Regions from separate parts of the Homo sapiens genome. Here regions 2 and 3 are each linked to region 1. Evidence: promoter capture Hi-C in human tissues and cell types (Jung and others, 2019). All regions are on one chromosome and are shown on one strand. The core of a region is centred on a gene start or on the middle of the fragment in contact, and the rest is flanking DNA. Distances in the headings are between cores, read along the strand shown.

Region 1 (3,715 bases), core at 1,058-3,557:
ACAAAAATCACCGTCTCTCCAAGGACAGAACTTCTTTTTTGTTTTGTTTTGTTTTGTTTTGTTGAGATGGAGTCTTGTTCTGTCACCCAGGCTGGAGTGCAGTGGCGCGATCTCTGCTCACTGCAACTTCTGCCTCCCGGGTTCCAGCCATTCTCCTGCCTCAGCCTCCCCAGTAGCTGGGATTACAGGCGCGCACCACCATGCCCAGCTAAGTTTTGTATTTTTAGTAGAGAAGGAGTTTCACTGGCCGAGCGTGGTGGCTCACACCTGTAATCCCAGCTACTAGGGAGGCTGAGGCAGGAGAATTGCTTGAACCTGGTAGACGGAGGTTGCAGTGAGCCGAGATCGCGCCATTGCACTCCAGCCTGGGCAACAAGAGCGAAACTCCGTCCACCCCAGCCAAAAAAAGAAGTGGTTTTGCCATGTTGGCCAGGCTGGTCTCTAACTTTTGACCTCATGATCCACCAGCCTCAGCCTCCCAAAGTGCTGGGATTACAGGCGTGAGCCACCGCGCCCGGCCTGGTCTCAAACTTTTGACCTCGTGATCCACCAGCCTCAGCCTCCCAAAGTGCTGGGATTATAGGCGTGAGCCACGGCGCCTGGCCGCAAAAATGGAACTTCTGCATCACAGGTGACTAACGGTGCCAGGCACACAGTAGGTGTTCAATAAATCACTTTGGACTAAAAGAACACAGAGGCCAAGGGGAAGTGAAGAAACGACTCACAGGTCAGTTTTATTGGGTGCCTAGTGCAGGGGTCAGTACACTACGGCCCTCGGATCAGCTCTGGCCCTCTGCCTGTTTTTGTAAATAAAGTTTTATTGGGTGCCTAGTGCAGGGGTCAGTACACTACGGCCCTGGGATAAGCTCTGGCCCACTGCCTGTTTTTGTAAATAAAGTTTTATGGGCACAGAGCCATGCCCATGGTTTTACATATTGTCTCTGGCTACTTTCACTCTGCGATGGCAGAGCAGAGTCATTGCCGCAGAGACTGTGGCCTGCAATGCTGAAAATATTTACTCTCTGGCCCTTTACAGAAAAAGTTTGCCAAACCCTGAGCTAGTGTGTGCTGGGCCCTGTGCCAAGCCCTTTGTGTGTGCTCACTCAGTTAACCCTCCCACAGCCTTAAGGGTGGGGGCAGGGGGGTGGGGGGGAATAAGGCTCCGAGAGGTTGAGAAACAGACCCAGGGTCACACAGCTTGGAGATGGGTGAGCTGGGAATCAGACAGACCCGGGACCCCTGATATTCTTTAGGATCTTAGCTTTGTTAACCTTTGCTAATTTATCTTATTGTCTTAAATGCTAAAATGAATACACATTCATTGTAAAAAGGGAGGAATAAAGAAAAGGTGTTGACGGCCTTCTTCAGCCTGGGGTACATCCTGCCGTATCTTTCTCCACAGCTCATCCGGGGCTACTTTCCTTTAAATCTACAGCCATTCAGCAAACATCGGCAGAGGAGAACCGTTTTATAAGAAAACTAAGAAGTTTGGAAGAATCTTTCCTTCCTGCCCACCCTGGACCCCCATGAGTAGGTGTGCTGGGGCTGGTCTGCAGTGTTCTCACGGGAAACCAGGAAGCTGGGCCCAAGGCCTACATGTTGGGGAAGACAGGTCCTGCCTGTCTCCTGCTGTGGCTCCCCAGTGCTCTGAGGACAAAGCCTGAGCTCTCCCTGATTCTCCACCGTCCCTCTCACTCACTCTGGTCGTCTGGTCGCTGGGCCTTTAGTGAGTGTGCCATGGGGGCCCTGGGGCCGATTAAATTCCAGCCCCGGGGACCAGGCTCAGCTCCCAGCCAGGGCACAGACAGATCAGCACCTGCGGTTGTCTCCACCCCAACCCCCGGCCTTTGCAGGCACAGCGCCCTCCACCAGATACTCCGGCAAAGGAGGCCTGGGGACCCTGCGAGCGGGGCCGGGGGTGCAGGGAGCTGTCAGCTCCTCGCAGCGGCCTCCCCAGGACCCCCCTATCCCCTCGCTCGCCCTGAAATGTGTGTCCCTCTCGGCGTCTGGGCTCTCGAGAAAGGCCTTTGCTTGTCTGACTTCGCGAGGGTCCCGGCTCTGGCCCAGGAGCTGGGGAGGGGCGGGACTTGGTGACAGCCGGGTCCCAGCACCGCGCCCAGACCTAGGCCCTTCTCAGGGGTGCCCCGGGGCGGGGCGCGCGGGGCGGGGGGCGGCGGCGGCGCAGCCGGCAGGAGGCGCAGCGCCCGCTCGCAGCGCGGGGAGGTGGGAGGGGAGCGGGGCGGGGAGCGGGGCGGGCGGGAGGGAGAGGGGAGCGCGCCGGAGACGCGCGCGCCCAGCCCACCCCCCGCGCCCGCCGCCGCCCGGACAATAAACAGCAGCTTTGCGCGGGGCGATGCCCGAGCCGGTGCCGCCGCCCCCGCGCCGCGCAGCCCCGGCCGCCAGGCCTTAGCCCGCCCCGGCCCCCGCCAGGCCGCGTCCCCCTCCCCTCCCCTCCCCCGCGCGCCACCCGCGCCCGCCCCCGCCCGGCACCGCGGACCCACCCGGACCTCGGCGGGGAGATGGAGTGAGTAGGCGCGCTCGGGCCGCGGGGCTGGGGGCCCGGAGCTCCGGGAGCCGGGGAGGGGGGAGGCCCCCTCTCTCGCGCCCCATTGGGGGCGTCGCTGCCCCCGCGAGGAGCAGGAGGCGGCGCGGGGCTGCTGGGGCCGCAGCGCAGCCGGGAAGAGACTCGGGCTGGGCCGCGCCTGCCGGGAGGCCTCCCCGCTCCCGGACCCCGGCTGCCCACCCACCGGCGCGTGGGGACCCGGGCAGCGGCGGCTCGGGCCAGTCCAGGACGCGGGGAGGGGGAGGCTCGCGTCTCCGCCCGCGCCCCGCCCGCGTCTCCAGGGCGAGCCTCGGCTCTCGGCCACCTGTGGGTGGCCCCGGGGAGATGGAGCGACCCCTCCCCAGATTGCACCGGTCCGGCCTCGCGCTCACGCACCCTTCCCCCGCCCCAGTCTGAGCGCACGGCTCCTGGCGCCCTGGACGCGCGCGCGGGCCGGTGCCCCCCACCCCCGCCCTTCCCAAGGGCCTCCAGGGGTGTCCTGAGCCCCCCGCCACTGCGCAGGTCCCGAGTTACCGCTGGAGGGAGAGGGGCTGCCCTCGGCTTCCCGGGTCTCTGGGGTGTGTGAGAAGGGAGAGGAACCGGCGTTTTCCAGCGGGGCGCCTGGGTGGGATACCCTCTCGGGGAAGTGTCTCGGAGCTGGGGCTCCACTGGTGTAGCTACAGGAGTGGGCTGGCCCTGGGCTGGGATCCCTGGACCCCCGCATGGCTGCGCCTGTGTGTGTGGGGGGGGGGTGGCCAGTGGAGGCACCGAGCGAGGGCGCGTGGTCATTTCGGACACCGGTCCCCTCCTCCCGGTGCTCGGGTGCCCCTCTGCCCCTCACTCCCACAGGTGGGCACTGCACGGGCAGGGGTCAGGAGGCTCCTCCTGGGGTCACCCACCTGCCCACTTCAGGACAGGGGAGCCAGCTGCCCTGCTGAGGCCCGGGTCCCCACCCCAGCCCGAGGACCGAAGACCGGATCTGGAGGCCGCCTGTGGCCCCCTGCCCTTCCCACTGGGCGTGTTTTCTAAGCCGCCAACTTTCCCCGGGGATTCACCCGTGACCCGCCACGCCCGCGGCTGGGTGGGGGCCGCTGCCTCCCTCCCTCCCTGGGAAAGCGAGACACCCAGTGTCCTCTGCTTTTGAAAACCCAGACAAAGGCCTGACCCCTCTCC
Region 2 (3,900 bases), core at 252-2,751, 190 kb before region 1:
GCTGGGTCATGCGGAGAGGTCAGGCGTGATGGGAGCTCGGGCCGCCGCGCTGACACTGCGACTGCCCCCAGCGCATTTTGGGGATGACCTCATGGATGGTAAAAGCGCCCAGCGGATTATAAGGGCCAACAAATGGGGCCTTTACTACTTGGGAGGGAAAAGGAGCGTACAGCCAGATGGGCCTAGAGTTGAATTGCAGGTCGCTGCCCTCCTGCCTCTGGGCCTCAGTTTCCTCCTCCATAGCAGAGCTTTGACCCTCGAGCTCGCTGAGATGGCACGTCCATCCCTAAGCCCTGAACTGAGCAGCAGTGATGACCAGGGAGGCACGTGTTCACCAGGCACCCACCGTGCACCGGCCCAGCATTACTGAGCACCTACTGTGCACCCGCCCAGCATTTACTGAGCACCTACTGCATGCCGGCCCTGCATTACTGAACACCTACTGCACACCAGCCCAGCATTACTGAGCACCTACTGCATACTGGCCCTGCATTACTGAGTACCTACTGCACACCAGCCCAGCATTACTGAGTACCTACTGCACACCAGCCCAGCATTACTGAGTACCTACTGCACACCAGCCCAGCATTACTGAGTACCTACTGCACACCAGCCCCACATTTACTGAGCACCTACTGCACACTGGCCCCACATTTACTGAGCACCTATTGCATCCTGGCCCAGCATTTAGTGAGCACCCACTGCACACAACCCCAGCATTACTGAGCACCTACTGTGCACTAGTCCTGCATTACTGAGCACCTGCTGCACACCAACCTGCCCCGGCCCCACATTTACTGAGCACCTATTGCATGCTGGCCCAGCATTTACTGAGCACCCACTGTACACAGACCCAGCATTACTGAGCACCCACTGCACACTGGCCCCACATTTGCTGAGCACCTACTATGTACCAGCCCTGCATTCACTAAGCACCTACTGTACACCAGCCCTGTATTACTGAGCACCCACTGCACACTGACCCTACATTTACTGAGCACCTATTGCATGCTGGCCCAGCATTTACTTCACTCCCACTGCACACCGCCCCAGCATTACTGAGTACCTACCGTGTACTGGCCCTGCATTCACTGAGCACCTACTCTACACCGGCCCTGTATTACTGAGCACCCACTGCACACCGACCCCACGTTTACTAAGCACCTATTGCTTACTGGCCCAGCATTTACTGAGCACCCACTGCACACCGCCCCAGCATTACTGAGTACCTATTGCACACCAGCCCCACATTTACTGAGCACCTATTGCATTCTGGCCCAGCATCACTGAGCACCTACTGTGTACCAGCCCTGCATTACTGAGCACCTGCTGCACACCAACCCTGCATTTACTGAGCACCTACTGCATGCTGGCTTAGCACTTCCCCGGCACCTACCACAGGTGGCCCACAGAAAGGTGAAGTCGTGTGCCCAGGTCATGCCGGAGGGAAGGCTGCCCTCCTCACCATGAAGCTGAGCTCCCAGAAGGGAAAAGCGTAAGCCCTGAGGTTGGCCACTTCCTCTCTGGGACCCTTGGCCAGACCATGGGGCTGCCCTGAGCCTCAGTTTCCCTATATGTCCCAGAGGAAGTAACAGGCCACTAGCATGAGGCCTGGCCGGGAACTGATGGGGGGAGTGAGGCCAGGGGGTTAAGCAGCCCACCCAGGGTCCTGCAGCGGCCCCCACGCTGGCCACGGTGCTCCCTGGCCACTCCCTGGTGCCCTCCACGGGAGTGTGTGTCACACTACCAGCACACGAGTGGCACGTAGTAAGGCCTCAGGCTCCTCACTGGGGCAGGGAATCGAACCCACCCCAGAGCCGGCAGCAGGGCTGACAGCCTTCTTCTGTAAGGGGCCAGATAGTGAACATTTCAGCTTTGCGTGGCAGCCTCCATCCTGACATTCAGCTCTACGGTTCTGGTCGGAAGCTGCCACAGGCCACATGTCAGCGGACTGATGTGGTTATGTTCCGATAAAGCTTTATTTACAAAAGCAGGCAGCAGGTCGTATTTGACCCTCAGGCTGACTGTGGGGCCTTGCCTGTGGGATTGTGGGGAGAGAAATACCACCACTGGCCCCGAGCAGCAACTGTCACCTGTAATCCCAGCAGTTTGGGAGGCTGAGGCAGGAGGATCGCTTGAGCCCAGGAGGTGGAGGCTGCTGTGAGCCCTGATTGTACCACTGCTCTCCAGCCTGCACAACACAGTGAGACCCTGTCTCAAAAAAAAAAAAAAAAGAAAAAATGCAATGTCAGCTGTGTTAAATGTTCAGCACAGACTGGGCGCAGTGGCTCACACCTGTAATCCCAGCACTTTGGGAGGCCGAGGTGGGCGGACCACGAGGTCACTCGAGATCCAGACCATCCTGGCCGACATGGTGAAACCCCGTCTCTACTAAAAATACAAAAATTAGCTGGGTGTGGTAACACACGCCTGTAATCCCAGCAGCTCAGGAGGCTGAGGCAGGAGAATCGCTTGAACCCGGGAGGTGGAGGTTGCTGTGAGCTGAGATTGTGCCACTGCACTCCAGCCTGACAACAGAGTGAGACACTGTCTCAAAAAAAGAAAGAGGGCCGGGCGCGGTGGCTCACGCCTGTAATCCCAGCACTTTGGGAGGCCGAGGCGGGTGGATCACGAGGTCAGGAGATCGAGACCATCCCGGCTAAAACGGTGAAACCCCGTCTCTACTAAAAATACAAAAAATTAGCCGGGCATAGTGGCGGACGCCTGTAGTCCCAGCTACTTGGGAGGCTGAGGCAGGAGAATGGCGTGAACCCGGGAGGCGGAGCTTGCAGTGAGCCGAGATCCCGCCACTGCACTCCAGCCCGGGCGACAGAGCGAGACTCCGTCTCAAAAAAAAAAAAAAAAGGAAGAAAGAAAGAAAGAAAAGAAAAAAACAAATGTCAGTTGTGTTAAATGTTGGGCACAGTATTTGGCCACATGTAAACAGGCGCTGCTGCTGCAGGGAGGGAGACCAGAGGGTCCTGGTGTTGTGGGACAAAGAGTGGAGAGACCGAAAAAGGTTCAGGAGAGTTTATCAAGGTGATCACCGGCTCAGCTGGACATACATCCAGAAAGTCTGAGCCTCGAACAAAGGGCTTTTCCTATTTTTAAACATCGTAAGGCGGGAACTACGTGAGGCGGGAAGCAAGTTACAGAGGCGAGAAACAAAGGCAGTTAAGCATTACAGCATTTCTTTTTTCTTTTTCTTTTTTTTTTTTTTGAGACGGAGTCTCGCTCTGTCGCCCAGGCTGGAGTGCAGTGGCGCCATCTTGGCTCACCGCAACCTCCACCTCCCAGGTTCAAGCGATTCTCCTGCCTCAGACTCCCGAGTAGCTGGGACTACAGACGTGTACCACCACGTCCCGCTAATTTTTGTATTTTTAGTAGAGATGGGGTTTCACCATGTTGGCCAGGATGGCCTCAATCTCTTGACCTTGTGATCCTCCCACCTCGGCCTCCCAAAGTGCTGGGATTACAGGCGTGAGCCACCGTGCCTGGCCAACATTTCTCACATCTTGAGAAAAACATGTCTTACAACCTAAACTTATCGGTTTTGTGACCCTGCAGCCGTGCTAGGGAGGTAAGCAGGAACTCGCTGGGCCTGTAATAAACTGAGGAATGTGGAGTTGGAGAGTATAGATAAGGTCCACTGACTACAGAGAGAAGACAGGCTGTTAACATTCTCTTTTAACTTGAGTGTAAGGGTGGGGGTCACACTTTGCAGCAACTTTAAGAGGATTTTAAAATTTCTATGACTACTACTATTAGGTTAGAGCTGATTTCACTAATTCCTTCTTCACTGGGGCCAGATGCCCCAGACAGATGCCTGCCGTTGATTCAAGACATTTACTGAGCACCTACTGTGGGCAGGGCAGTGTTCTGGGCACCAGGGCTATAACC
Region 3 (4,105 bases), core at 1,465-3,964, 200 kb after region 1:
GCCTGTAATCCCAACACTTTGGGAGGCCGAGGAGGCAGGATGGCTTGAGCCCAGAAGTTTGAGACCAGCTTGGACAAGTTAGCAAGACCCTGTCTCTAATATGAAAAACAAAAACAAAAACAAAAAAAAAGCATCCTCTGCTCCAGCCTGGCCAATAGACCGAGACTCTGTCTCCAATCAATTAACCAATCAACCAATCAAAGACGCATCCTTTCTCCTTCAGATACAAATCACCTCGGTAGAGATGGGTATGGCCTCTGAGTGGAGATAATAGTGATGATATAATAAACATAATAACGATGATAGTAATAAATGATCATTTAAAAATAATACTAGCCGGCGCGGTGGCTCACGCCTGTAATCCCAGCACTTTGGGAGGCCAAGGCGGGCAGATCACAAGGTCAAGAGATCGAGACCATCCTGGCTCACACGGCAAAACCCCCGTCTCTACTAAAAATACAAAAAAATTAGCCGGGCGCGGTGGCGGGCACCTGTAGTCCCAGCTACTCGGGAGGCTGAGGCAGGAGAATGGCGTGAACCCAGGAGGCGGAGCTTGCAGTGAGCCGAGATCGCCCCACTGCACTCCAGCCTGGACGACAGAGTGAGACTCTGTCTCAAAAAAATAAACAAATAAATAAATAAATACAAATAATACTAAAGACCGGGTGCGGTGGCTCACGCCTGTAATCCCAGCACTTTGGGAGGCCGAGGCAAGCAGATCGTGAGGTCAGGAAATCAAGACCATCCTGGCCAACATGATGAAACCCCATCTCTACTAAAAATACAACAATTAGCTGAACGTGGTGGCGGGCGCCTGTAATCCCAGGTACTGGGGAGGCTGCCGCAGGAGAATCGCTTGAACCCAGGAGGTGGAGGTTGCAGTGAATGAAGATCGTGCCACTGCACTCCAGCCTGGGCGATAGAGCGAGACTCCGTCTCAAAATATTAATACTACTAAAATAACCAATAAAACATTAACGATAATTAGTAATGAGACAACGGACACTCCTGTTTGCTGGGCCCGCCGCAGTGCCAGCTCGGTAACCCCCACCACTCGGAGAAGAGGCCACACTTACTATCCCATTTTACAGAAGGGGAAACTGAGGCATGGAAGCATGAAATAACCTGCCCAGGTGGCGCCGTCCGCACACGGAGGAGGCAGGAACGGAACACGCGCCGCCTCCTCGCCCTCCACCAACACGGACCCCAGGGGCGCACCCTGGGTCCCCGGGTCCCTGTGCGGGCCGGGGTGACACACGGCTGACCCCCGCACAGACCGCCCCGCTTCCGGGTCCCCCGGGAAGGACGCGCGGGCTCCTGCTTGCCAGGTTTTAACCCACAAGGGTTGTAGGGATTTACCCAAAGGAGAGCAAGGAGCCGGGTCTGCCCGGAAAGGCAGGGGGCGCGGACAAGCCCAGAGGGCGAGTGGGGCCGGGCGTGCGGCAGGGACCAGGCTGGAGCGCATGGCCACGTGGGTGAACCCCGACCCGCGGACAGGGGCCCAGGACCCTCTGGCGGGAGGCTCCATGGCTGGCACCTCGGGGCCCGGGGAGTGGGGGGGCAGACCCGGGAGTGGGGGCGCGGCCCCGGGGAGGTGGGGGGGGGGGTGGACCAGGGAGTTGGGGGGCGGACTGGGGAGGTGGGGGGACGGACCCGGGAGTGTGGGGGGCGGACCAGGGAGTTGGGGGACTGACCGGGGAGTGGGGGGACAGACCCGGGAGTGGGGGCGCGGCCCCGGGGAGGTGGGGGGGGTGGACCAGGGAGTTGGGGGGCGGACTGGGGAGTGGGGGGACAGACCCGGGAGTCGGGGCGTGGGCCAGGGCAGTGGGGGGGTCGGACAGAGGAGTTGGGGGGCGGGCCCGGGAGTGGGGGCGCGGACCCGGGAGTGGGGGCGAAGACCAGAGAGTAGGGGCACGGACCAGGGAGTTGGGGGGTGGAACCGAGGAGTTGGGGGGCTGACCCGAGGAGTTGCGGGGCGGACCCAGGAATGGGGGCAAGAACCAGGGGAGTGGGGGGGTGGAGCAGGGAGTGGGGGGACGGACCCAGGAGTGGGGGCGTGGATCAGGGCAGTGGGGGGGCGCGGACCCGGGAGTGGGGGGAGTCGGACCCGGGAAGTGGGGGCGCGGACCGGAGAGTGGGGGCACGGACCGAGGAGTTGGGGGGCGGACCCGGAGAGTGAGGGGGTGGACCCGGGAATGGAGGCGCGGACCAGTGCAGTGGGGGGGCGGACCGGGGAGTGGGGCGCGGACCGGGGATTAGGGGGCGGACCGGGGAGTAGGGGGCGGAACAGGTAAATGGGGACGTGGATCCGGGTCCCCTCCCCCAGCGAGCCCCCGGAGCGCCAGGAGGGTGTCCCCGCTGAGTAACAATGAAGACCCCCCACCCAGCCTGGGGGTCCACAGCGGGCGAGAAGGGAAGGCAGGACAGGCTGAAGCCCCGGAAGATGAGCAACGGGAGCGAGGGGAACGAAGGGAACGAGGGGAGGGAAGGGAAAGGAGGGGAGGGGAGGCGGGGAGAGGATCTCAGGGGAGGGAGCCCAGCCCGCCCCCGGCGCCCGCCGCGCCCCGCCCGCCCGCGCTCACAGCAGCCGCCGCCCGCCCGGGGTGCCCTCCGCCGCCTCCGGGCCGCACTCGGGGTTCTCCAGCGCGACCATGGCTCGCACGCTGTCGCCGCCGCCGCCGCCCGGCAGGGCCTTCACCGGGCCGGGCAGGAAGTGACGGGCGCCCGGAGGCGGGCAGGGGCGGGGCCTGGGGCTGCGCGGCGGGGCGGGGGCGCCCACCTCCCGGCTGCCGGGAACGAACGCGGAAACCCAGGCGCGCGGGGAGGGGATCCAGCCCCTGGGGGGACGAACGGGGAAACCGAGGCGCGCGGGGCGGGGATCCAGCCAACAGGGAACGAACGGGGAAACCGAGGCAGGCGGGGCCGGGATCCAGCCATCAGGGAACGAACGGGGAAACCGAGGCAGGCGGGGCCGGGATCCAGCCCCTGGGGGGACGAACGGGGAGACTGAGGCGGGAGGCGGGGCCGGCCACGATCCCTACACCCAGAAATCTAGCTCCGGGAAGGAGGGACACCTAGGCGAGGGGTCGAAAACTCAACCACAACCCTGCGTCCCGATCCGGGCTGCGGACTGAGCCAGGAATCCAGCCCAGGGAGGCGAGGAGACACGGACAGGGAAACTAAGGCCTGAGCATCGACGAGGGAGGGGACGTTCTTCTTGGAGGCAGAGGATGGCGGAAATTAAAACTGCCCGAGCCTTCCTTCCACCTGCCCCTCCCAGCCCTGGAGCCTCGGCTAGGCAACCCCTTCCCCTGCTTAGCCTCAGTTTACTCTTCTCTAAAATTAGGCCTGGTGGCCAACGTGGTGGCTCACGCCTGTAATCCCAGCACTTTGGGAAGCCAAGGCCAGTGGATCACTTGAGTCCAGGTGTCTGAGACTAGCTTGGGCAACATGATGAAAACCCATCTCTAAAATAAAAAGAAAGGGCCGGGCGCGGTGGCTCACACCTGTAATCCCAGCACTTTGGGAGGCCGAGGTGGGCGGATCACGAGGACAGGAGATCGAGACCATCCTGGCTAACACAGTGAAACCCCCTCTCTACTAAAAATACAAAAAATTAGCCGGGCGTGGTGGCGGGGGCCTGTAGTCCCAGCTACTCGGGAGGCTGAGGCAGGAGAATGGCGTGAACCCGGGAGGCGGAGCTTGCAGTGAGCCGAGATCGTGCCACTGCACTCCAGTCTGGGCGAGGAGCGAGACTCCATCTCAAAAAAATAAAATAAAATAAAATAAAGCAAGAGGGAGGCTGGGCACGGTGGCTCGCACCTGTAATACCAGCACTTTGAGAGGCCAAGGCCAGTGGATCACTTGAGGTCAGGAGTTTGAGACCAGCCTGGCCAACATGGCAAAACCCTATCTCTACTAAAACTACAAAAATTAGCCGGGCGTGGTGGTATGCACCCATAGTCCCAGCTACATGGGAGGCTGAGGCACAAGAATCGCTTGAACATGGGAGGCAAAAGTTGCAGGGAGCCGTCCACTTCACTCCAGCCTGGGCCACAGAGTAAGACTACTCTGTCTCAAAAAAAAAAAAAAAAAAAAAAAAAAT

Evidence for each region. Contacts are between HindIII fragments. The study calls those that stand out against the background at their distance.
Region 2: a contact is called between a fragment that was not itself captured here and the fragment with the promoter of PALM in region 1, in 3 of the 25 tissues and cell types used here (IMR-90 fibroblasts, heart left ventricle and thymus).
Region 3: the fragment with the promoter of R3HDM4 here is called in contact with the fragment with the promoter of PALM in region 1 in 6 of the 25 tissues and cell types used here (adrenal gland, dorsolateral prefrontal cortex, heart right ventricle and 3 more).

Annotation. Positions count from the first base shown.
Region 1 is chr19:706,628-710,342 of GRCh38, forward strand. PALM (paralemmin) reads left to right here and starts at 2,308. Exons shown (of 9, transcript NM_002579.3): 1 at 2,308-2,524. The coding sequence starts at 2,520. RefSeq lists an enhancer at 1,305-1,865 and a silencer at 1,318-1,554. The HindIII fragment of the contact is 30,523 bases long and covers 1-3,715 here.
Region 2 is chr19:513,183-517,082 of GRCh38, forward strand. All of the region lies in intron 1 of TPGS1 (tubulin polyglutamylase complex subunit 1), which reads left to right. Among named protein-coding and RNA genes, the nearest start is that of MADCAM1-AS1, 7.2 kb to the left of the region's middle. The HindIII fragment of the contact is 7,591 bases long and covers 1-3,900 here.
Region 3 is chr19:910,505-914,609 of GRCh38, forward strand. R3HDM4 (R3H domain containing 4) reads right to left here and starts at 2,715. Exons shown (of 8, transcript NM_138774.4): 1 at 2,583-2,715. The coding sequence starts at 2,653. RefSeq lists a silencer at 2,533-2,872. The HindIII fragment of the contact is 36,901 bases long and covers 1-4,105 here.